Linked DNA regions of Homo sapiens: regions 2, 3, 4, 5, 6 and 7 are each linked to region 1. The links are contacts of gene promoters, found by promoter capture Hi-C in human tissues and cell types (Jung and others, 2019). All regions are on one chromosome and are shown on one strand. The core of a region is centred on a gene start or on the middle of the fragment in contact, and the rest is flanking DNA. Distances in the headings are between cores, read along the strand shown. Region 1 holds the start of RBFA (ribosome binding factor A). Region 2 overlaps KCNG2 (potassium voltage-gated channel modifier subfamily G member 2). Region 3 has its middle 4.0 kb from the start of PARD6G. Region 4 overlaps KCNG2 (potassium voltage-gated channel modifier subfamily G member 2). Region 5 overlaps KCNG2 (potassium voltage-gated channel modifier subfamily G member 2). Region 6 overlaps KCNG2 (potassium voltage-gated channel modifier subfamily G member 2). Region 7 overlaps PARD6G (par-6 family cell polarity regulator gamma).

Region 1 (3,295 bases), core at 137-2,636:
TCAAAATCATTTTTGGAGAAAGGCGTAGACCTGTCTCCTGGGTGCGTCCTTAACTTTGGCAAATAAATCTCCTAAAATGATTAGAGACTTGTCTCGTCGTTTTCTTCGATTGACAATATATACACACATACATACGCATACACACACACATATATACGCGCACGCACATGCACACATATACATGTCCACACACATGCACACACACGTACATATGCACACATACACATGTACACATCCACACGCGCCCACACACACACACACACACAGACGTGTCTCACACCACAGCAGCCGCCTCGGGGGAGTCACAGCCCACGCATCCCCAACACTGCGGTCGCGCTCACTTCTCTTTCCACGCCCGGGGGGAGCAGCTTCCCCGCTGGGCCACGCTGACTCTGGGGAGGCGGGCGGGGCGAGACCACTTCTGGGGAGGACGCCCAATCTGGGGACTTTCTCTAGGTGCCCGGGGAGAAGGCGGCGCAGCAGCAAAGCCCTGGAGGGCCCAGTGGCGGAAACAGACGGACCCCTCGCAGCCTCCCGCCGACAGCGGCCCTGCCCAGGTCTCCAGGCTTCGATGCCTTCGTTGCTTTGTGCGGCGCACCCGCCTACGTCAGTTCCCAGTATTTAAACAAAACGTGTTCCTAGCTACGCAGCGCCAGGCAACCAGGCGGTTCCCACGCTTCCCCGAGTGGCACACCCTCCGCGCAGCCCACGCGGCCTCCCCACGCCCAGCTCCCGCCGGCCCCGCCTCGCGTCGTCCTTCGCCCCGCCCCCGTTGCCGCCCCCCCCGCCCGCACACTGCCCACCTGGCGTTGTCTTCACCCCGCTTACACGCCGCTCGCTTCGCTCTGGTAGTCGCCCACCTCGCGCTGCCCTTCTCGCTTCAGTCTTCGCCCTGCCCACCCACCGCCCACCTCGCGCCAGTCTTCGCCCCGCCCATTCACCGCCCGCCTCGCGTCAGTCTTCGCCCCGCCCAACCACCGCCCGCTTCGCGTCGGTCTTCACCCCGCCCACTCGCCGTTCGCCTCGCGCCTTCGCCCCTCCGCCGTTGTCGCCCCGCCCCTTCTTGCGTCCAGTCTTTGCCCCGTCCCTCGCCGTCGCCCCGTCCACACGCCGTCAGCTTCGCGTCTGTCCTCGCCCCGCCCACCTACCGCCCCCCTCGGGCCTTCGCCCCTCCGCCGTCGTTGCCCCGCCCGCCTTGCACCCCGTCTTCGTCCCGCCCCGCGCCGTGGCCCCGCCCACACGCCGTCAGCTTCGCGTCTGTCCTCGCCCCGCCCTGCATCATCGCCCCGCCCTGCATCATCGCCCCGCCCACACGCCGCCTGCCAGGCGTGAGTCTTCCTCCCGCTCTGCGCCGTCGCCCCGCCCACACGCCGCCACCCTCGCGTCAGTTGTCGCTCCGCGCCTGCGCCCGTTGTCTCCCTGCTCGCTCCGGGTCCCGGCGCCGCGCCATGTGGGCTGCGGCGGGCGGGCTGTGGCGCTCCCGCGCGGGTCTCCGGGCCCTGTTCCGTAGCCGCGATGCTGCGCTATTTCCAGGCTGCGAGCGGGGACTTCACTGCTCTGCTGTCTCCTGCAAGAACTGGCTCAAGAAATTTGCCTCGAAAACCAAGTAATGCGGCGGGGGCGGTGTCCCTGGGCGCGGTATTCCCTAGGGGGCGGTGTCCCCGGGTTGCGGTGTCCGCTCATCCGCGTTCTTGCGCCCATGCGGCCTAGCTCGCCAGTTCCTGCCTCCTGGGGTCTGCAGCAGTTCTAGCTCTCACTGTCAGCATTTGCAGCTTTTGTGTTCGTGGACGTGTGTCGGGTTAAGAAAACAAAGTGACAATGTGTGTTTATTTTGATTCTTGTCACCAGACGTATTTTTCAGAAGATTAGTTTCAGAAAATGAGGAAAAATGAAAAAATATAAGAATTTCCTTGCTAATGTTGACTTTCTGTGTGAATTTGAAGACTAAAGCTTGTCATGATAATTAGTGTTTTTAAATTATGAAAGATAAGTACAATAAAATACATTGACTTTTCACACTGCTTTTAGTTCTTCTAAGTATGGTAGGTGGTTGTATGTTTTCTACTTTAATACACTACTTTTAAAGACAGTTTTAGACCCTGCAGAAAAATTGCAAAAATAGTACCGCGTTCCTGTGTCCTGGCACCCAGCTCCCCCTGTGTTAGCGTCGGACTTTAGCTTCCAACGTGTTCCAGTTAATGAGCCGATATTGATAAGAGTGTTGCTAACTGAAGCTCATACTTTATTCACTTTTCCTTGGTTCTGCCTGCTGTCCCTTCCTGTCCCAGGTGCCCACCCAAGGTCCACGTTACATTGAATTGTCTTGTTTCCTTAGGCTGGGGTAGTGTCCCAGACTGTCCCTGGTTTTGATGGCTGTGCCAGTTTTGAGGGGTACTGGTCAGGTGCTTTGCAGGATGCCTCTCTGTTGGAATGTGCCTGTTTTTTTAATGCTTAGACGTGGATTATGGCTTTTGGGGAGGAAGACTACAGAGGTAAAGGCCATTCTCATCGCACCGTATCCAGGGTCCACGCTGGCCGTGATCCCCTGCATGAGGTGCTTGCCAGGTTTCTCTACCGTAAAGTTACTCTTTTTGCCCCCTTTCCTTACTGTACTCTGGGAGAAAGTCGCTGTGTGCAGCCCATGCCTAATGAGTGGGGAATTTTGCTCATAAGTGGTTTGCATTCTGCACAAGGGATATGTCTCTTCACCCCATGTATTAATTCATTCATATCACCAAGAACTCATGGGTTATAATCCCGTGTTACTTAGTTTTGTTCGAATGTTTCCAGCTCAGGCCCTTAGGAGCTCACTAAGCTCCTATGTCCTGTTTGCATACCCTGTCATTGTGGGGTTTTGCTGGGTTCTGTGTGTGTTAAACACTTTCCTACTTTCTGGCACTACAAGATACTCCAGGCTCATCTTGTGTGTTTCGTACCACAGCCCTAAAATCAGCCATTTCTCCAAGAAGCCCTCGTTCCTTTTATTGGAGAGAGAGATTAGAAACCATGGGTGCTGGGTGTGTTCATTGCTTCTGGGGTGTCTGTCTTTTGGGCCATCTCATCTGACGAAAGGATATATGTGTTTCTACTAACCCTTGTGTAAATATGCACCTATAAACATTTCCGTGTATAGCCATCTGTCTCCAACTCCAGACGTACTGTGTGGATCATTCTAGCCTCCTCTCCTTGCTGATCTGTAAGTCGCACTCCAATGGTGAGCGTGGCTCCCACCATCCATTTGCTTAATTGTTCAGTCTCAGTCTATGCCTATAACAGTATCTGAATCCTTTACTTG
Region 2 (3,541 bases), core at 66-2,565, 170 kb before region 1:
CTACGTGTGTTTTGGAGTTTTAGCTCTTACATTAAGGTCTTTGATCTAGTTTGAATTAGTTTTTATATATAGTGTGATGTAGGCATCTTGGTCCATTCAGTGTTGCTATAAAGGAATACCTGGAGCCAGGTAATTCATTTTAAAAAGAAGCTTGTGATGTCATCATGATTCTGATGTCTGGAAAAGTTCAAGATCAGGCATCTGCATCTGAGGAAGGCCACAGGCAGCTCCAGTCATGGCAGAAGATGGCGTGGAGCTGGTGTGTGCAGAGACCACACGGAGATGGAGGAAGCAAGGGCTAGGGGTGCCAGGCGGGTTCAACAGCCAACTCTGGAGTGAACTCATAGAGCGAGAACTCACTCATTACCATGAAGACACCTCCCAGCCATGCATGAGGGATCAGCCCCCATGACCCAAACCCCTCCCATTAGGCCCCACCTCCGACACTGGGTATCAAATTCCAATATAAGATTTGGAGGCCAATATCCAAACGATAGCAGGGTCCAACTTTATTTTTTTACATGTGGATAACCGTTTGTTGGAGACACTATTACTTCTCCATTGAATAGTCTTGACGACCTTGTCAAAAGTGAACTGACGGTAGATTTATGGGTTCATTTCTGGACTTTCAATTCTGCTCCATTGATTTTTATGTCTCTCTTTACACTAGTACTACACTCTTGATTGCTGTAGCTTTATACTCACTTTGAGTAAGTAGTAATGTACTAGTCCATGTTCGCATTCCTATAAAGGAATACCTGAGACTGGGTAATTTATAAAGAAAAGAGGTTTAATTCGCTCATGGTTCTTCAGGCTGTAAAGGAGGCACGGTGCCAATGTCTGCTAAGCTTCTGGGGAGGCTTTGGGAAGCTTCCAGTTATGGCAGAAAGCAAAGGGGGAGCAGGCACGTTACATGGTGAAAGCAAGAACAAGGTTGCGGGGTAGGTACCACACACTTTTAAACGAACAGATCTCATTTCGACACAAGATTTAGGTGGAGGCATGTAATAAAATGATATCAAGTAAGTTTGAGCCCTCCAACTTTGTCCTTTGTCAAGTTTGTTTTGGCTACCTTGCATTTCCAATAGAATTTTCAACTTGTCAATAGAATGTTCAACTTGTCAATGTCTTCAAAAAAGTTACTGGGATTTTCATATGGATTGGATTGACTCTGTTGATCAATTTAGGGAAGATTGCCATCTTAACAATATTAAGTCTTCCAATACATGAGCATGGAATGTCTTTTCATTTATTTAGTCTTAAAATTTCTTCCACCAATGTTTGTAGTTTTCAGTTTTCAGTGTAGGTTTCAGTTTCCACTCCTTGGTTAAATTTATTTCTAAGTATTTTATTCTTTCTGATGCTCTTATAAATGGAATTTTTTTAACTTCCTTTTCCGATTATTCATTGCTTTTGTATAGAAATACAACTGATTTTTTTTACCGATCTCATGTCTTGCAACTTTGCTGAACCCATTCTCATAGTGATGTGTGTGTGTGTGTGTGCGCATGTGTATGTGTATGTGTGCGTGTGTGTTCTTTAAGGTTTTCTGTACATAAGATCATAAGATCAAGTCATCTCAAAATATAGTTTTACTTTTTTCTTTTGAGTGTGGATGCCTTTTATTTCTTTCTCTTGCCTAATTTTTCTGACTATAATTTCCAGTTCAATGTTAAGTAGAACTGATGAGAGCAGGTATTTCAGTCTTGTTCCTGGTCTTAGGGGAAAGAATCCAGTCTTTCACCGTTGACTATGGAGTTAGCGGTGAGTTTTTCCTACGTGGACCTTGTCATGTGGAGGAAGTTCTCTTTTAGACCTAGTTATTGATTGAGTTTTTTGTTTAATCAGGAAAGGATGTTAGACTTCGTCAAATCCTTTTTCTGCCTCTATTGAAATTATCGCATGATTTTTCCCTTCATCCTATAAATGAGCGTATTATAGTAATTTTGTGTATTGTGCCACCCGTGTATTCCTGTGATAAATCTCTATGGTAAACGATCAAATGGTCATCATGTATAATCCTTTTAATATGAAGCTGGATTTATTTTGCTCATGTCTTGTGGAGGATTTTTGCCTCTGTTTTCTTCTCTCTCTCTCTTTTTTTTTTTTTTTTTTTTTTGAGATGGAGTTCTCACTCTGTTACCCAGGCTGGACTGCAGTGGCGCGATCTCGGCTCACTGAAACCTCCGTTCCCAGGTTCAGGCAATTCTCCCTGCCTCAGCCTCCCGAGTAGCTGGGATTACGGGCACCTGCCACCACACCCCGCTAATTTTTGTATTTTTAGTAGAGACAGGTTTTTGCCATGTTGGCCAGGATGGTCTCAAACTCCTGACCTCAGAGGATCCACCTGCCTCGGCCTCCCAAAGTGCTGGGATTACAGGCATGAGCCACTGTGCCGGGTCTTTGTCTTTAGACAGTTTGTGGTGTGTCAGTGTGGATGTCTTTGAATTTATCTTACTTGGAGTTTGTTGAGTTTCTTAGATGTGTAGATTAATGTTTTTCATCGAATTTGGAGGGTTTTTAAACCATATTTCTTCAAATATTCTTTCTTCCCTGTTCCCTCTTTCCTTTCAGGACTCTCACTATGCAAAAGCTGGTACATGTGATGGTCCCACAGGTCTCTTAGGCTCTGTTCCGTTTTCTTCACTTGTTTTCTTTCTGCTCCTCAGATAGGATAGCATGAAATGATGTATCTCCAGTTTCTCTGCTTATTTCTTCAGCGTGTTCATAGCTGCTGCTGAGACCCTCTAATGAGCTTTTCATTTCAGCTATTACACTTTCAACACCAGAATTTCTATCACTTTTTTTTAATATAACTTCTGTCTCTTTATTGATATTCTGTATTTGGTGAGACATCATTCTCACAAATTCCTCTAGCTCTTTGAAGATATTAAATAAGCTTATGTGAAATCTTTTCTGGTGAGTCCAATATCTGTGTTTCTTCAGTGATATTCTGTTTTAGTTCCTTTTTCCTGTCTATGAGCTACACTCTTGTATTCTTTGTATGCCTTGTAATTTTTTGTTGAAAATGAAATTTTTAATAAGTGGCAGTTCTGGAAATCAGACTCTCCCCTCTCCCCAGGAGTTTTTGTAGCTACTGTGGTTTGTTGAGTAACTTTTGTGAACTAATTTTGTAAAGTCCATATTCTTTGTCTGATGTGGCCACTGATGTCTGTTCCAATAGCTTAGAGGGCAGCAAGTGGTGGGACATATAGATTCTTAAACGTCTGGAATGAAAACTGAAACTTGTTTTTGCAGATGGGCTCTGCGTGTCTTGGAGCAACCTTCAGCACTCATCCAGGCTGGTCAAGCCTCTGTCTTATCACCTCCTGCTCGCAGAATCTGAAGGTCAGCCCGAGGAGGCACTTCAGGGACTTCTCGGGTTTTTCCCGGCATGTGCGCAGCCGAGGCGTGTGCGTGGCATTCCAGATTCCCGGGAACTCTTAGAACTTTATCAGGCCTTCATTTCCTAAATCATCTCATTCCCCAGCCTTTCGTCCCCAGCTTTTTGTTTAGCCTGTGGCGGCAACCATAATCCATT
Region 3 (3,458 bases), core at 134-2,633, 220 kb after region 1:
GACGCCTTTTAAAGGAAAGGCTGGAAGGCTACGGAATTTCAAGTAGCCCTAGACTTGGCTCTGGACCAGGTTGATGAGAGTGAGATCACTTTGTCAATGCCTGTGGCTCAGAGTGTGGTGTAAGGCCCAAAATCTGCTCCACCTGGCACTTGTTAGCAATACCCCACCCAGACCCACTGAATCAGAATCCGCACTTGAACAAGATCCCCAGGTGATTCATGTCCACACTGAAGTTTGAGAGGTGCTGCTCCTTTATCTTAATCATCTGTTGCTCCACAGTTCTTGATTGGCATGATCTGCAGGCAAAAGCAGGAGGAAAGGCTGGGAAAGCTTGCTGTTGCGTGTGGAGCTTGAGTTTCCAGCTGAGACTTGAACTGGATTTGCTAGGGCTTTGAGCTCTAGGTTCAGGCGGGTATAGACCAAAAAAAAATTAACTGAGCCTTCAGCTGGAAAGGCTTTTACACAGTACAGCAGCCAGATTGGAAAAAACAAAAGCCCTCTCCTACCAGACACAGTGGCTCACACCTGTAATCCCAACACACTGGGAGGCTGAGGCTGGAGGATTGCTTGAGGCCAGGAGTTTGAGACTAGCCTAGGCAACATGGTGAAACCCTGTCTCTCCAAAAAAAAAAAAAAATTAGCTGGGCATGGTGGGACACACCTATAGTCCCAGCTACTCAGGCGGCCAAGGTGGGAGAATTGCTTGAGCCCAGGAGGTCGAGGCTGCAGTGGGCTATGATTGTGCCACTGCACTCCAGCCTGGGTGACAGAGAGAGACCTCATCTAAGCAAAAAGAAGGGAGTGGGGGAGGAAAAGGAAAAGAAGAAAGAAAGAGAAAAGAAAGGAGAGAGAGAAAAGACTCCTCAGATCCTGGCCTGATAGCCTGCCTTTTCACACAACTGGGGGTCATGGGAGCCTCTGAGAGGCTGACTTGTTTCAGACAGAAAATGAGAGAGAAAATAGGAATGGGTAGGGGTTAAATCTTCCTCAAATCACGGCTTCTAAGAACCCATCTAATAACTGAACCATCAGGAGCAAAAAGGAAGTATGTTGTGGACCCAGTAAAATGTATTCCTTGACTGGGTGCAGTAGCTCAAGCCTGTAATCCTAGCACTTTGGAAGGCCCCTCTGCAGTGGCTCATGCCTGTAATCCTAGCACTTTGGAAGGCCCCTCTGCAGTGGCTCATGCCTGTAATCCTAGCACTTTGGAAGGCCAAGAGGGGCAGATTGTTTGAGACTGGGGAGGCTGAGGTGGGAGGATTTCTTGAGACTGGAAGGTCGAGTGTGTGGTGAGCTGTGATCATGCCACTGCACTCCAGGGCATAGCAGAGTGAGACCCTGTTGAAAAAAAGATGAGAGCAGGTTCTTTTATGATGAGAGCAGGCTCTTTTATGATGAGAGCAGGCTCTTTTATGATTGAACATTTGTTGCTGATGTATATGTTCTAAGAAAACATTCTCTAAGATAATTTCGTTGGGTAATAGGAAAGCATCGCTGTAATATTTGAACCAGCAGGCTGTTGCATTTGCAATGCATTCTAATATATTTTCGGATGAGGCAGGCAAAGAACTGATATTCGATTGAAATAAGGAAATGGCAGAGTAGTTATGCCTCATTATCACCTGATTCTCATATAAAGGCATCCCTTCTTTTTACCCTTTACTCTTCCCCTGCTCAAAGAGGCCTCTTCTGCCTTTTTTAAAAATTTTCATTTTTGAGATGGAGTTTCATTCTTGTTGCCCAGGCTGGGGTGCAATGGCGCGATCTTGGCCCACTGAAACCTCCGCCTTCCGAGTTCAAGCGATTCTCCTGCCTCAGCCTCCCAAATAGCTAGGACTATAGTCATGTGCCACGACGCCCGGCTAATTTTGCATTTTTAGTAGAGACAGGGTTTCACCATGTTGTCCATGCTGATCTCGAATTCCTGACCTCAGGTGATCCACTCGCCTCGGCCTCCCAAAGTGCTGGGATTATAGGTGTGAGCCACTGTGTCTAGCCTCTTCTGCCTTTTTGATGCAGTAATATCTTGACTCTCAATGGAAGCTTCATGCCTAAATTGACTTACCAGTAGCTCTTTCAGCAGATGGCACCGTTGGCCAGAATAGAATGAATTCCCTGCATTCCAGAGCCATCTGCCCACATCCTACAAAGTGGCCCTGGTTGCATCCCCTAGATTGGTGCAAAGGGCTCTCTCCTCAACCAGCTTGCGGTGTGACCTGCATGTCCACCCCCAGGTGGAAGACAAAAGGCAGGTGGTAAACCTTACGCAGCTGTCTCTGACTTTGCATTAAAACTCTGGGACACTTTTACAAAATACAAATAAAAGCACCTAGAACATGAAGCACAGTCTTTGTTCCAAGTATTACACTAAGCATGGATTAGAGTCTCAGGATCTGTTTTAAAAAGAGTCAGTCCGTAAAGCTTTTCACTGACTTGGTGAATGTATCAGAATGTGATTTTATGGCAGAAAAGCGTGGTCAGTTTTCAGCCACACAGCATCCATTCATCAGCATGATTCATCTCCTCGTGCACACTCCCAAAGCATTTCAGAGGTTCAAAGCAGTTGCAGGCCCTACTGATTTCCTATTAGATGAAACTGCATGCTTTTCCTCTTGTCTATTTCAGCATGGTTTCTTGGTGGTCCAGTTTACGGCCATCTCCAAGATAATGTCTCTGATTCATCAAATTCTGCCATGGTGGCGGCCTGTACCGGGCCCTGGCAATACAAACATTAAGGAAGCACTCATGTCTTCTGGCCTTGAGGTCTTAGCCAAAGCAAGAATCCTGAAGCTAGGTGTGAAGAGTTCATTCACTCTAAATGGATATGCATCAACTCCTTATTCTTAGATATGTGGGGAAATCTTCCCGGAAGATGCTGCTTGATCACTCAAGTTGTAAAACCAACAGCATCACACAGAAGGCAGTGAACAAGCAACTTCCTGGAGCCATCCTTAGCCCCAAAGGAAGACGGGCTTGGATTCAGACCGTACCCAGCTTGATATGTAGTCCCCTCTGTCCTCAATATGTGCCTGATTTAATTGTTCTAGAGCATCCCACAGAAACCCCAGATAATGCCCACAGGCCTAAGGACATACTGGGAAACCCTCTGGGCTCCCTCAGATGACCTTGATCCAGTCTCTCAGTCTCCTGGTTCATGTCCCAGTCTCTGTACCTCTGCATGCCCTTCTGATATCTTCTTCTTGTTGATCTCGATCTCCCAATTTTACTGCCAAGAGTGAGTGCCTGGACTTTCACTCCCTGCTAAGCACTAACATCCCTGTGACCTCCAGGGGTGAGAAAGTCCTAGAATTCCAGGTCCTCTTCCTCTCTTTCCTGCCTACACATATCCACAGATTCTCGGACATGGTCTCAAGCACTCTTTTGGGTCACTGGTCACCGAGACTCAACGTGTGCAACGCAGACAGAGCTCATCGTTTCTGACCTTGCTCCTCTCTCCC
Region 4 (3,487 bases), core at 13-2,512, 220 kb before region 1:
GAGTCCGCGCTCTGAGGAGCTGCCGGGGACACACTGACCACACTCCACGTTATGGGCCCAGAGTCCGCGCTCTGAGGAGCTGCCGGGGCCTCGCTGACCACACTCCACGTTATGGGCCCAGAGTCCGCGCTCTGAGGAGCTGCCGGGGACACACTGACCACACTCCACGTTATGGGCCCAGAGTCCGCGCTCTGAGAAGCTGCCAGGGACACACTGACCACACTCCACGTTATGGGCCCAGAGTCCGCGCTCTGAGGAGCTGCCGGGGCCTCGCTGACCACACTCCACGTTATGGGCCCAGAGTCCGCGCTCTGAGGAGCTGCCGGGGCCTCGCTGACCACACTCCACGTTATGGGCCCAGAGTCCGCGCTCTGAGGAGCTGCCGGGGCCTCGCTGACCACACTCCACGTTATGGGCCCAGAGTCCGCGCTCTGAGGAGCTGCCGGGGCCGCGCTGACCACACTCCACGTTATGGGCCCAGAGTCCGCGCTCTGAGGAGCTGCCGGGGCCGCGCTGACCACACTCCACGTTATGGGCCCAGAGTCCGCGCTCTGAGGAGCTGCCGGGGACACACTGACCACACTCCACGTTATGGGCCCAGAGTCCGCGCTCTGAGGAGCTGCCGGGGACACACTGACCACACTCCACGTTATGGGCCCAGAGTCCTCGCTCTGAGGAGCTGCCGGGGACACACTGACCACACTCCACGTTACGGTCCCAGAGTCCTCGCCCTGAGGAGCTGCCGGGGCCGCGCTGACCACACTCCACGTTATGGGCCCAGAGTCCGCGCTCTGAGGAGCTGCCGGGGCCGCGCTGACCACACTCCACGTTACCGGCCCAGAGTCCGCGCTCTGAGGAGCTGCCGGGGCCTCACTGACCACACTCCACGTTACGGTCCCAGAGTCCTCGCCCTGAGGAGCTGCCGGGGCCTCACTGACCACACCACGTTCCGGGTGCCCAGCGCACCTGCCGCTTATGCAGCTTTCGGTTCTAAACCTCGCTCCCCAGAAGGCAATCTTCACGCCCACTCAAGACGTACTTTTCGGATGCTGCAGCCCAGGCGTCCTACTGCACACTAGGAGCTGTGGTCACCTCGTCCAGAAAAAACAAGAATGTGGCCAAATGCCCGTGGCTGCCCTCTGCGTCTCCTTCATTGTTGCCGGTTTTAAAGCTTCTCCTCCCACTATCGTGACGCTCCAACTTTCCGGGGCTCATGGGGTTGTGGGGCTGGTGGGCGGAGTCCTGTGCTCATTGGCGTTTGGCTGTGGGTTCTGGTCTCAGCGCCGTCCACAGGGCCAGCCTCGCGGAGCCGCCCGCCCATTGCGCTGGGCCTGGGTGGAAGGGCCGATGAGGATGAAACCTCGAGGGAGCATCCCTCAGAACCTGTGTCAGCACCCAGCTGGGCTTCTCATGTGCAAAGGCAGAATCTGATTTAAAAGCCAGGGAAGATGGAGGCGGTGGGAGGGGGGAGTGGGTAATAGTCTAAAGGAAAAAAATCAGGTGAAAGGGACAAAAAGAGAAACTTGAAAAGGAAGCCTTGGAAAAGAGAGAAGAGAGGGTGGACAAAGAGGACCAAGATGAGACTGGAGAATTTCTGATCAGTGGGGAGGGGGGAAGCACCACGCCTAGTCCCGGAGGGGGTTTGCTGGGGGCTGCCCAGCACAGCTCTACAGGGCAGGCAAACCCAGCTTTGGTCCCATCTCATGTCAAATACTGATGCCGAGTGCTGGTGAGTAAAGGCAGGAAACGTAGAAATCAAAAATTAAAAAACAAAGTAGCCAGATGCAGTGGCTCATGCCTAGAATCCCAGCACTGTGGGAGGCTAAGGTGGAAAGATCACCTCAGAAATTTAAGACCAGCTTGGGGAACATAGCAAGACCCTGTCTCTAAAAAAAAAGAATTAACCAGGTGTGCTGGCACAGGCCTGTAGTTGCAGCTACTTGGGATGCTGAGGTGGGAGGATCACTTGAGCTCAGGAGTTTGAAGCTGCAGTGAGCTACAATCACACCATCACACTCCAGTCTGGGTGACAGAGTGAGATGCTGTATAAAAAGACAAAACAAACCAAAAAACGTAGAAAAAAACTAGAAGTAAATATATGCACAGTCTCTGAATGATGAGGACTGTCCAACCTTAGAAGCATGAGTCAGGCTCTTCTCAAAAACAAAAACAAACCAGAACTTAGAGTCAAACAATACTCAAAACTCAGCGTGTTGTTGTATACTAGCAATGAAAAACCTGGAAAGGAAATTAGGAAGACAATTTACTATAGCATCAAAAAGAGTAAAACCCCTAGCAAGAAATGTAACCAAAGAGGTGTAAGACTTGTATGCTGAGAACTACAGAACATTGCTGAAAGAAATTACAGACCTAAAGAAATGGAAAGACATCCCATGTTCACGGATAGGAAGACTTAACATTGTTAAGGTGGCAATACTCCCAAACTGATCTATAGATTCAATACAATTCCTATCAAAATCCTAGCTGACTTTTTGCAGAAATGGACAAGCTGATGCTAAAATTCATATGGAATTACAAGGGACCAAAGTAAGTGAAAAAAATCTTTAAAAAGAACAAAGTTGGAGTTCTCACACTATTTATTAAAACTTACTACAAAGCTACAGTAAGCAAAATAGTGTGGTATTGGCATAAGGAGAGACATATTGATCAATGGAATACAATTGCAATTCTAGAAATAAACCTATACATCTGTGGTCAGCTGACTTTTGATGAGAGTGCCAAGACCATGCAATGGAGAAAGAATAGTCTCTTCAGCAGATGGTGCTGGGACAACTGGATTCCACATACAAGAGAATAAATATCCAAAATGTCCATGATACAATAAAAAAAAGTCACTCACCAAGAACCAAGAAAACCAGAACATAAATGAAAAAAGACAATTAACAGACACCAACATCAAGCTGAATCAGATGTTGGTTTATATGACTACTATTTTAAAGTAGGCTTCACCAATCAACGATGGGTTTAAAATGCTTCACCAATCATGTATTTTCCTGAAACAAATGAAGGAATAGAAAATCTTAGCAAAGAAATGAAAGATATAAAAAAGAAAAAGATGAAATCACGTAACTGAAATATATAACAACAGTTTTTTAAACTCTGACTGCATGGGGTGAACAGTAAAGGGGAGATCACGCTGGATGGAATTAGTGAACCTGACCCACAGAAATTACCCAACATCAACAGAAGAGAGAAGAAAGACTGGAAAGCATGGGCAGAGAGTCACAGGGAGTTGTGTGACGATAACAAAAGTATTAATACTTGTATCATCAGGCCCCAGAAAGAGAGGAGAAAGAGTGGGGCTGAAAAAGTATTTGAAGAAAGAATGCCCCCAAAACCTCCCAGATTTGGCAAAAGACATAGATCTACAGATTCAGGAAGCAGAAAGACAACAGGAAAATCTCCAGATACTTGGAAATTAAATAACATGCCTTAAAATTATCTATGGGTCGAAGAGGAAGTCTCA
Region 5 (3,270 bases), core at 651-3,150, 200 kb before region 1:
CCCAGCAGGTCAGCCATTAAATCTTAAGGCTCTGAGATGGTCTCCTTTGACTCCATGTCTCACATCCAGGTCACACTGATGCAAGAAGTGGGCTCCCATGGCCTTGGGCAGCTCTGCCCCTGTGGCTTTGCAGGGCACAGCCCCCATGGCTGCTTTCACTTGCTGGCTCTGAGTGATGGTGGCTTTTCCAGGCAGATGGTGCAAGCAGTTGGAGGATCTACCATTCTGGGGTCTGGAGGACAGTGGCCCTCTTCTCACAGCTCCACTAGGCAGTTCCCCAGTGGGGACTCTATGTGGGGCTCCAACCCCACATTTCCCCTCTGCTTTACTCTACTAGAGGTTCTCCATGAGAGAAAAATCATCTCAAGTTCAAAGGTCCACAGATCTCTACGGCAGGGGCAAAATGCCACTAGTCTCTTTGTGAAAGTATAGCAAGAATGACCCTACTGCAGTTCTTAATAAGTTCCTCATCTCCATCTGAGACCACCTTAGCCTGGACTTCATTGTCCATATCTCTATCAGTATTTTGGTCAAAACCATTTGACAAGTCTCTAGGATGTTCCAAACTTCCCCACATCTTCCTGTCTTCTTCTGAGCCCTCCAAACTCTTCCAACCTCTGCCCTTTACCCAGTTCCAAAGTTGTGTCCACATTTTCAAGTATCTTTGTAGCAGTGCCCCACTCCAGGTACCAATTTTCTGTATTAGTCCATTTTCACGCCTATACAGAACTACCTGAGACTGGGTAATTTATGAAGAAAAAAGGTTTAATTGACCCACAATTCCACATGGCTGGGGAGGCCTCAGGAAACTTACAGTCATGGCAGAAGGTGAAGGAGAAGCAAGACCTTCTTCACATGGTGGCAGGAGAAAGCGAGAGTGAGTGAAGGGAAAGTGCCTCACTTTTAAACCATCAAATCTCAGGAGAACTTGCTATCACAAGAACAGCAGGGGGGAACTGGCCCATAATCCAGTCACCTCCCACCAGGTCCCTCCCTTGACATGTGGTGATTACAAATCAAGATGAGATTTAGGTGGGGACACAGAGCCAAACCATATCAAAAGTATACCATAAAACAAATCTCAACAAATTTAAAAGAACTGAAATCATATAAGTGTTCTCAGTGTGGTTCTCTGAGCATAATGGAATAAAACTGGAAATCAATAATAGAATAATCTTCAAACACTGGAAATTTAAATCATACTTCTAAATAATCCTTGGGCCAAACAAGTCTTTTTTTTTTTTTTTCCTGAGACAATGTCTCTCTGTCGCCCAGGCTGACTGCAGTGATGCAATCATGGCTCATTGCAGCCTCGACCTCCTGGGCTCCAGCAGTCCTTCAACCTCAGCCTCCTGAGTAGCTGGGACCAAAGGTGTGCACCACCATGCCCAGCTAATTTTTAAATTTTTTGTAGAGATGGGGTCTCCCTGTGTTGCCCAGTCTGATCTTGAATTCCTGGGCTCAAGTGATCCTCCCACCTCAGCCTCTCAAAGTGTTGGGATTACAGGCATGAGCCACCTCACCTGGCCCAAAGAGGAAGTCTTAAGGGAAATCAAAACATACATTGAACAGAATGAAAATATATACACAACATATCAAAATTTGTGAGACCAAGCTATACAGTGTCAAGAGGGAAATTACATTAGAAAAAAGGAAAAACCTCAATGTACAATCTCAGGTCCCACCTGCAGTACCTAGAAGAGGAAGAGCAAAGCAAGTAGAAGGAATGAAATAATGAAGAGCAGAAGTCAATGGCGCTTAGCCCAGTAGAACAATAGGGAAAAGCAGTGAAACAAAGAGCCGACTCTTTGAAAGGATCAATAGAATAAACTTGGCCAGATGCAGTGGCTCACACCTGTAACCCCAGCACTTTGAGAGGCCAAGTCAGGAGGATCATTTGAGTCAGGAATCCAACACCAGCCTGGACAAGACCCCACCTCTACAAAAATATAAATTTAAAAATAAATTAGCAGAATATGTGGGCGCATGCCTGTCATCCCAGCTACTTGGGAGGCTGAAGGGAGAGGATCACTTGAGCCCAGGTCAAGGCTGCAGTGAGCCATGATCATGCCACTGCACTCCAGCCTGGACAACAGTGCAAGACCCTGACTCTAAATGCATAAATAAATAAATAATTCCTGGCAAGCCCAACAAAATTAAGAAGAGAGAAGACACACGTTACCAACGTCAGGAACAAAATAGAGGACATAACTGCATACCCTGTAGACATCAGAAGTGTGAGAAGGGAACCCTGCCAACAACTCTACATGCACATTTGACAGCCCAGATCTACTGGACCGATTCCTTGGAAAATACACACTACCACAATTCACCCAGTGTGAAATAGATCATGAGAATAGTCCTATAACTGTTAATAAACTTGAATTTGTAAATTAAAAATTCCTGAAAAAGCAATCTCCAAGCCCAGATGATTTCACTGGAGAACATCTAAACAACTAAACCTCTGAGTAAACATCTAAGGAAGAATTAACACCAATCTATACTGTCTTTTCCAAAAAATGGAAGAGGAGGGAACATTTTCTAAAACCTTATTAAATATTAGCAAATAGAAATCAGCAATACGTAAAAGGAATTATACACCATGGCCAAGTGGAGAGTTTATTCCAGGGATGCAAAGATGATTCAGTATTTAAATTCAATCAGTGTAAGCACCATATTGACAGGCTAAAGAAAAATCACATAATCATATAAGTTGATGCAAAAAACTTTTTAAATAACACCTCTTTTGATAAAAATTCTCAGAATATAGGAATCAAGGGGAAGTTTCTTGACTTGATAAAGAGTATCTACAAAAACCTTAGCTGACATACACTTAATGGTGAAAGACTGAATGTTCTTCCCCTCAGATGGAGAACAAGGCAAAAATGCTCACTTTCATCACTCTTATTCAACATATAACTGAAAGCTCTGGTCACTGCAGTGGGTAATAAAATGAAATAAAATGTATATAAGTTATAAAGGAAGAAATAAGACTGCCCCATTTGCAAATTACATGATTGTATACACAGAAAATCCCAAGAAATCTACAAAAAGCCAAAAAAAACTCTTAGAACTAATAAATGAATTCAGCAAGATTGCAAGACATAAGATAAACATACAAAATCAATACACTAGCAAGACACATGGATATCAAAATTAAACATAGAATATAATACCCTTTACAATTGTTCAACAAAATGAAATACTTAGGTATGAGTCTAGCAATACACATATAGAACTTTAATGCTGAAGACTACAAAAGGCAAATAA
Region 6 (3,524 bases), core at 675-3,174, 150 kb before region 1:
TAGTTACATGGGTTGGTTTTGAATATCACATGAGCCAAGATCGCGCCACTGCCCTCCAGCCTGGGTGACAGAGTGAGACTCTGTCTCAAAAAAAAAAAAAAAAAAAATTACATGTACAATTACTTTGATAAGACAAAAATTAACTTAAAAACATGCTCAGTCACCAAAATTCACTCAAGAAGAAATAAATAACATAATCCTATGGTAATTAAAAAAATTAAATTCATAGTTTAAAACCTTCCAGGAAGAAAATTCCAGGCCCAGGTAGTTTCACTGGTGAATCTAACAAAAATTTAAGGAATAAATAACACCAATTCTACATGGTCTCTTCCAGAAACATGTAAGAGGAGGGATCCCTTCCCAACTCATTCCAAGAGGCCAATACTCCTCTGATACCAAACCAGAGACATGACAAGAAAAGTAAAAACAAAGACCAGTGTCTCCCATGAACTCATGCGAAACTCCTCAACAAAACATCAGTAAATCGGGGTTGGTAAAGACATAAAAAGCACAGCACATCACGGCCAACTGAGGTTTTTCTCAGGAAAGCAAGCTTGGTTCGATACTCAAAACCAACCCATGTAATTCACAATATTAATGCACCAAAGAAAAAATGCCAGCTGTTCATCTCAACAGATGTAGAAAAAGCGTTTGACTAAATTCAGTATCCATTCATGATTTTTAAAACAGCACTTTCAGCAATTTAGGAATAGAAGGGAATTTCCTTTTCCTGATAGAGAACATCTACCAAAAAAACCCTACAGCTAACAACATACATAGCAAAAGACTGAATGTTTTCCCGTTAAGATTGGGACCAACCCAAGGATGCCTGCTCCCCACTCCTCTTCAGCACCTGTTGGCAGTCCTAGAGAGAGCAGTGAAGCAAGGAAAGTAGACGTCGTACTATTGGAAAGCAAGAGAATAGAACTGCATATGTAGAAACACGCTGTCCAATTGGAAAGCAAGAGAATAGAACTGCCTATGTAGAAACACACCATATGATTGGAAAGCAAGAGAATAGGACTGCCTATGTAGAAACACGCCGTACGATTGGAAAGCAAGAGAATAGGACTGCCTATGTAGAAACACGCCGTACGATTGGAAAGCAAGAGAACAGGACTGCCTATGTAGAAACACGCCGTATGATTGGAAAGCAAGAGAACAGAACTGCCTATGTAGAAATTCCCAGGAAACCCACAACAAAGCTTAAGAAAATTAAGGGAGTTGCTAGCAGTGAACTATTGGAATTCAAATTTTTTAAAGTTCATTAATAGCACCAAAAACCATGAATTGCTTACATGCAAGTCTCACAGCCTAGGTCCAGGATCCATCTACGTGCTGATAATTACAGCTAAATACAGCTGATAATTACTGATAAAGACTGAAATCAACGAAGGCCTGCAGTGCTCACGCGCTGAAGACTCGGTGTGACTAAGATGTCCACCCTCCCCATAGTCCATCTCCAGATTCAGTGAAATCCCATTCAGAATCCCATTTTCTGCAATATTTACAAGCTGATTGTAACATCTTTATGGAAAGGCCTAGGAACCGTTTTGAAAAAGCAGCAGTTGGAACTGACACTGCCTGCTTTCACGATTTGTTCTGAAGCCACAGCAGGACAGTGTGGGGAAAGGACAGGCGTGGGGTCGTGGACACAGTCCAGGAATAGAACCACATGAATGGGGCCAGCCGGCGTTTGGCAAAGTGAAAAGGCCGGGCACGGAGAAAGAATCGTCTTTTCAACAAATGGGGCTACAACAACTGAACTCCCATATTTTAAAAAAACACAACCCATGCCTTACGTTTTATACAAAAATTCAACTCAAGGTGGACCGTGGCCCTAAACATATAACATTTAAAACTATAAACTTGTAGAAGAAAACATAGAGGTGGCCTTGCCAATGGAGAGTAAGGAAGGAGTTCCCAGACGTGGCGTCAGATACGCGATTCATGAAATATGAAAATGGATAGGCTTCACTTCATTAGAATCTAAAACTCCTGGCCTAGTTGGGGTCTCAGGCCTGTAACCCTAACACTGAGAGGCCGAGGTGGGAAGATCACTTCAGCCCAGGAGTTCACGACCAGCCTGGGCAATATAGCAAGACCCTCATCTCTATTAAAAAAATTCTTTTGACTTTTGTCCACAAAAGACTGTTAAGAGAATGAAAAAACAAGCCTCAGACTGGGAGAAAATATTTGTAAATCACATATCTAACAAAGGACTTGTAATTAAGCTATATAAAGAACTGTATAAACTCAACTGTAAGAAAATAACCTGATTTTAAAAGGGACAAAGTTTTGAACAGACACTTCACCAAAGAAGACACGCCTATGGCAAATACAGCGCTGAACTGTTATTAGGGAAATACAGAGTTAAGCCACAGGAGCTGTCACTCACATGTTAGAAGGGCCCTGATCTAAAAACCAGCCGAGAGCAGCAAGCTCAAAGGAGGGTGCGCGGCCGGCAAGGCTCAGGACCTGCAGGCCATGGAGTGGCGAGGCTGCCATGGAGTGGCGAGGCTGCCGTGGAGCGCGGAGGCCGGGTACACCTGCGCGTGGAGCGCGGAGGCCGGGTACACCTGCGCGTGGAGCGCGGAGGCCGGGTACACCTGCGCGTGGAGCGCGGAGGCCGGGTACACCTGCGCGTGGAGCGCGGAGGCCGGGTACATCTGCGCGTGGCACGCGGAGGCCGGGTACACCTGCGCTCATCGCACACCAGCGCCCACGCCCAGGACGTACTCGCGGGAAGGACAGCGTGTGTCACGTACAGAGCGAGTGTTCAGCCGGCTTTATTCAGCACGGCCTAGCCCGGAAGCAGCCGACACGGACCGCGACGGCCGGTGCCAGATCAATCCCGGTGCATCCACGGTGCGCGGTGAAAAGCAGCAAAGGGTGGGTGCCCGGGACAGCACGAATGGGCTCGCAGGGCCTGACGCGGGAGAGGCCAGGCCAGGAAGCCACGCTGCGATCCCGTCTATGGGATACCTGGGAAAGCCAGGGGTTGGGGGCCAAGACTGGGTGGGCGGGGTCCGGCTGTGAGGCAGGGAACGGCGGGGGGAAGCTGGGGGAGCTGTCCTGCGTCTTTGCGCTGCGTTTTCGCGGTAGTGGTGGTTCCAGGACCGTGATTTGTCCAGACCCATAAAGCTGAGCTCTGATGAGCGAGCAGGTCCTTTTGCATAAATCTTTGGGCTCATTTCTGACGTTCCCTGACAACTCCCCAAAATAGAATTTCTAGGTCAAAGTGCACACAGTCTTTGAAGGCTTTTAAAATATATTAGTGCAGAGTTTTACGAGTTTATACCCTGCCCCGCCTGGACCACCCTGGGCCCCAGAACCTTGGCTGTGGCCGTGACCCAGGGGACACTTGTCTGGTGGGGACAGGGCTGAATTTGTGTGGCTGCTTGGGGACCAACTCAGCAGCTTCTAGTGAACGATGAGGAGGGGCCTGTCTGGCAAAGGTGAAGACATGTCTGTCTGGTAAAGGTGAGGATGTGCTTATATGTCTTAGAAGCCAGCTGTTCCAC
Region 7 (3,253 bases), core at 198-2,697, 200 kb after region 1:
GTTGGCCAGGCTGGTCTTGCACTCCTGACCTTGTGATCCACCCACCTCGGTCTCCCAAAGTGCTGGGATTACAGGTGTGAGCCACCACAATTGGCCAGAAGTGGTATTTGAAAAGGATTTAAGGGCTCAAGGAAGCCTTTACAATATAGTAAATTTAAAAACACACACACAAAAACACAACACCGAATCTGCAGCGAGGTCCCAGTTAGGTCAGAAATTACCTTGGCACAAAACAGAGCAGATGGGCAAGGCCCCTGGGCTGGGAATCCTGTCTGAGCCAGGAGCCCCCTCAGGCCAAGGAAGTCAGGACCTCTGGGGCTGGGCCCAGGCAAGGTCATTTCAGAAAGTTCTAGCTCCTGCTCCTTGAGGATGTTCCTTGAACCAGAAGCATTCCCTGGAGCCAGCTGGAAATGCTCTACACCAGACCCGGAGTCCAAATCTGCACTCTCATGGGAGTCAGGGCTCATGTGCACATTAAAGGTTGCACAACTGACCTGTCTTCGTGTAGCTGATGGTTTGCTCGAGCCAGAAGTTAGACAGTAATCCACACATGCAAATATGTAATTGCAAACTCTGAGAGATGCAAATGAAGACTGTAAAACACAGGCCCTAATTTAAACTCAGGGAATAAGGAGTGGAAATAACTGGGTGAAGCGTGAGGACAGAGAGCATTTCATCCCATGGCACAACCAAAGGAGCCTGGACAGCCCCAGGAATGAGGAGGGCAGTGTGGGCGGCCAGGCAAACAGGACTGTGTGTGTCTGAGATGCTCCAGGGACGTGTTGACACAGGGAGTTGGCTCCAGGACGTGCTGGGGGCCTTCAGGTGTCTCCCACATTCCCCCACGCATCCAGGTGGGTCATAGGGTCACAGTGTCACCATTTCAGAGGAAGAAGACCCTCAAGTCTCACTGTCAGGGTGGGGTCACATGCCCAGCTCTAAACCATTCACTGGCAGGGGCTGAGACTCGCCTTAGACTGTCAGAGCCCCTGGCCTACAGCAGGGTCTGTTGGGAGGGGATGGCGATGCTGGCCTACCATCCAAGCCCAGACGCATTCCAGCTGTAAAGGATCTCACGCGTGTGCATGGCAAACATGAGCTGCCTCAGACCTTCAAGCCGGGGAGCACCTGTGCACATCTGTGCCCTGTAGGAAACTAAGAAACACAGAAAGAACTCCATGTAGGAAAAGAGAGTGCAACAGGTCTTAAAGAAATACAGGCGGTCATCCTAATGAGGAACCTGTTGGAGCGTGGGACTCGGCAGTAGTTTGCTATAGAATGACTTCTTGGGCTGACACGTTGGGACGGTTTAAAATCGGGCCACACACCTATGAGTCAGATGAGGTGGAGCCTGGCGCCTGCCTAGGTGCTGTCCACCCAAGATCCAGAGTGATGATGGTGCAGCCGTTGGCACTCGCAGAACTGCCCAGACGAGCATCATGCCAGACTGTGCAGGGTGACGGCTAAACCCACTGTACCCTGTGGCCCCTCTGAGCACAGACAGTCCCTGCAGAGGGCCTGCCATTCTGGTTCATGCATGTGTTCTGGACCAATGCACCCAGCACTGCTAAATGTAGGAGGTGGGAGGGGTAGCAGTGAGGGAGGGGTAGCAGTGGAGGACACAGAGGTCTATGAACATGGTCTCCGTCCAGAAGGGATTTACCATACAGGAGAGAAGTCAGAGTCTCTGCCAAGCTTTGTGTGCATGCTCTCTGTAATCCTGATGGCAACCCTAGGGAGGTGTCACTGTTCCCACTTTACAAACCAGGAGACTGAAACCTAGAGGGGTTCAATAACCTGCCCATAGTCACAAGGCTAGTAAATGAAGGACCTGAGGCTGAATTCAAAAAGGGAATTTGGAAAAGACCTAAAGAGCTACAGTGATGGGAGAGAGAATTCCAAATGGAAGGTCAGGGACAAGGGGTGCCCTTTGTGAGAAGGAACACCCCAGGTGGGAGGGGATGCCCCTCATGGAGGGAATGGACAAGGATGGCCCATCAGCAAGGGAGTGGGATGAACGGGCCAGGGTTACTCCAGAAGCAACTAAGGGCTCAGGAGACTCTAGTGCTGAGAGGTAGGGCCAGGGGAAAGGTGCTGGGGGTTGGCCTGGGCCCAAGTGTGTGAGGCGTGAGCACAGGCTGCGCATCTGTCCCTGCCTTCATAAGACTTTCCTGAAAGGTAAATTCACTTAGGCAGAAGCCTCGAACTCCAGCCCGTGGAAGAAAGTGGGGTCCCATTCCGATGTGAGCTCATGATACATGGAGGAATTAGGCAGTTCTGCATCCGAGCTGTGCTGCCCACTGGGAGCGGCTGAGGGGATGCAGGCTGGGTCACTGGAGTTGTACAAATACAGACAGACAACATAGCAAAGCTGCAAAGAGCCAGGCTCTGAGTGGACACACCTGGGTTCCAATCCTCACCTGTACTGGCTGTGTAACTCTGGATAATTTATTCAACTTCTCTGATCCTGTTCCTCCTTCATAAAATAGATAAAAACATTCATCCCAGGGTTGTGGTGAGACTCTAATATGAACACATGTCCTGTGTTCAATATAGGCCCTGGTGAGCGAGTGAGACTCCAGCCAATGGGAGCAATTCACTCGCTCAACTTGCTCACCAAGCTGTTTGTTCTCCCCCAGGCCTAGAGACGGGTTCGGCATCTCACAGGCATCCACAGGGATGGCTGCCGAGCCCTTCTCAAAAACCCAAAGTTGCAAGCACAGTAAAGGCAGACCTCTTGCATGTATGGAGTTATAATAGCACAGGATAGTAAGCCTGTTTTGGGCTCACACTGTGGGCCTGAGCTGCTGGCAGATTCAGCCTTCCGGCAGCTGAACCACAAGCCCTAATCTCTGAGCAGAAGCCACTGCGTTCCTACACTTGTCCCTTCACTGCTGGCAGGTAGCTGTTTTTCAGGGCATTTTTAAAAAATGAAATAACCTTTTAGTAATTCCATGAGTGAAAAGCTGTGCTCATGAGTGTGACCAGAGCCAGCAGCTCTGGGTGGAGATAAAGAGTGGTAGGTTCTGCCCCCGCCCCCCAAGCCACACAATTCAACAGGCCTCTGCTAGGTGGTGTCCACACCAGGGACTGGGTGGGTGGGATGGGTCACCAGGAGTACTCTGACCTCCACTGCAGAAAGCCTACTGCGGGGCTGCTGAAGCAAGTGGATGAGGTGGCCAGGCCTGCAGTCCTGGGCCTGTGCTCCTTGCATGTATTAGTCCGTTTTCACGCTGCTGATAAAGACATACCC

The links. Contacts are between HindIII fragments. The study calls those that stand out against the background at their distance.
Region 2: a fragment that was not itself captured here is called in contact with the fragment with the promoter of RBFA in region 1 in 7 of the 25 tissues and cell types used here (IMR-90 fibroblasts, dorsolateral prefrontal cortex, lymphoblastoid cells and 4 more).
Region 3: a fragment that was not itself captured here is called in contact with the fragment with the promoter of RBFA in region 1 in 3 of the 25 tissues and cell types used here (IMR-90 fibroblasts, dorsolateral prefrontal cortex and mesenchymal stem cells).
Region 4: a fragment that was not itself captured here is called in contact with the fragment with the promoter of RBFA in region 1 in 2 of the 25 tissues and cell types used here (IMR-90 fibroblasts and lymphoblastoid cells).
Region 5: a fragment that was not itself captured here is called in contact with the fragment with the promoter of RBFA in region 1 in 1 of the 25 tissues and cell types used here (mesenchymal stem cells).
Region 6: a fragment that was not itself captured here is called in contact with the fragment with the promoter of RBFA in region 1 in 5 of the 25 tissues and cell types used here (H1 embryonic stem cells, IMR-90 fibroblasts, dorsolateral prefrontal cortex and 2 more).
Region 7: a fragment that was not itself captured here is called in contact with the fragment with the promoter of RBFA in region 1 in 1 of the 25 tissues and cell types used here (mesendoderm cells).

What each region holds. Positions count from the first base shown.
Region 1 is chr18:80,033,048-80,036,342 of GRCh38, forward strand. It overlaps RBFA (ribosome binding factor A), which reads left to right and starts at 1,387. Exons shown (of 7, transcript NM_024805.3): 1 at 1,387-1,606. The coding sequence starts at 1,449. It also overlaps a transcript of TXNL4A not described here. RefSeq lists silencers at 673-842, 874-1,030, 913-1,232, 1,243-1,322, 1,433-1,582. The HindIII fragment of the contact is 12,317 bases long and covers 1-3,295 here.
Region 2 is chr18:79,859,177-79,862,717 of GRCh38, forward strand. All of the region lies in intron 2 of KCNG2 (potassium voltage-gated channel modifier subfamily G member 2), which reads left to right. Among named protein-coding and RNA genes, the nearest start is that of KCNG2, 63 kb to the left of the region's middle. The HindIII fragment of the contact is 4,051 bases long and covers 1-3,341 here.
Region 3 is chr18:80,249,769-80,253,226 of GRCh38, forward strand. No RefSeq gene overlaps it. Among named protein-coding and RNA genes, the nearest start is that of PARD6G, 4.0 kb to the left of the region's middle. The HindIII fragment of the contact is 3,076 bases long and covers 1-2,921 here.
Region 4 is chr18:79,808,715-79,812,201 of GRCh38, forward strand. The region is part of intron 1 of KCNG2 (potassium voltage-gated channel modifier subfamily G member 2); the gene reads left to right. Among named protein-coding and RNA genes, the nearest start is that of KCNG2, 13 kb to the left of the region's middle. The HindIII fragment of the contact is 3,330 bases long and covers 1-2,927 here.
Region 5 is chr18:79,837,182-79,840,451 of GRCh38, forward strand. The region is part of intron 1 of KCNG2 (potassium voltage-gated channel modifier subfamily G member 2); the gene reads left to right. Among named protein-coding and RNA genes, the nearest start is that of KCNG2, 41 kb to the left of the region's middle. The HindIII fragment of the contact is 8,072 bases long and covers 1-3,270 here.
Region 6 is chr18:79,880,230-79,883,753 of GRCh38, forward strand. The region is part of intron 3 of KCNG2 (potassium voltage-gated channel modifier subfamily G member 2); the gene reads left to right. Among named protein-coding and RNA genes, the nearest start is that of SLC66A2, 70 kb to the right of the region's middle. The HindIII fragment of the contact is 7,076 bases long and covers 1-3,524 here.
Region 7 is chr18:80,229,142-80,232,394 of GRCh38, forward strand. All of the region lies in intron 1 of PARD6G (par-6 family cell polarity regulator gamma), which reads right to left. Among named protein-coding and RNA genes, the nearest start is that of PARD6G, 17 kb to the right of the region's middle. The HindIII fragment of the contact is 5,802 bases long and covers 1-3,253 here.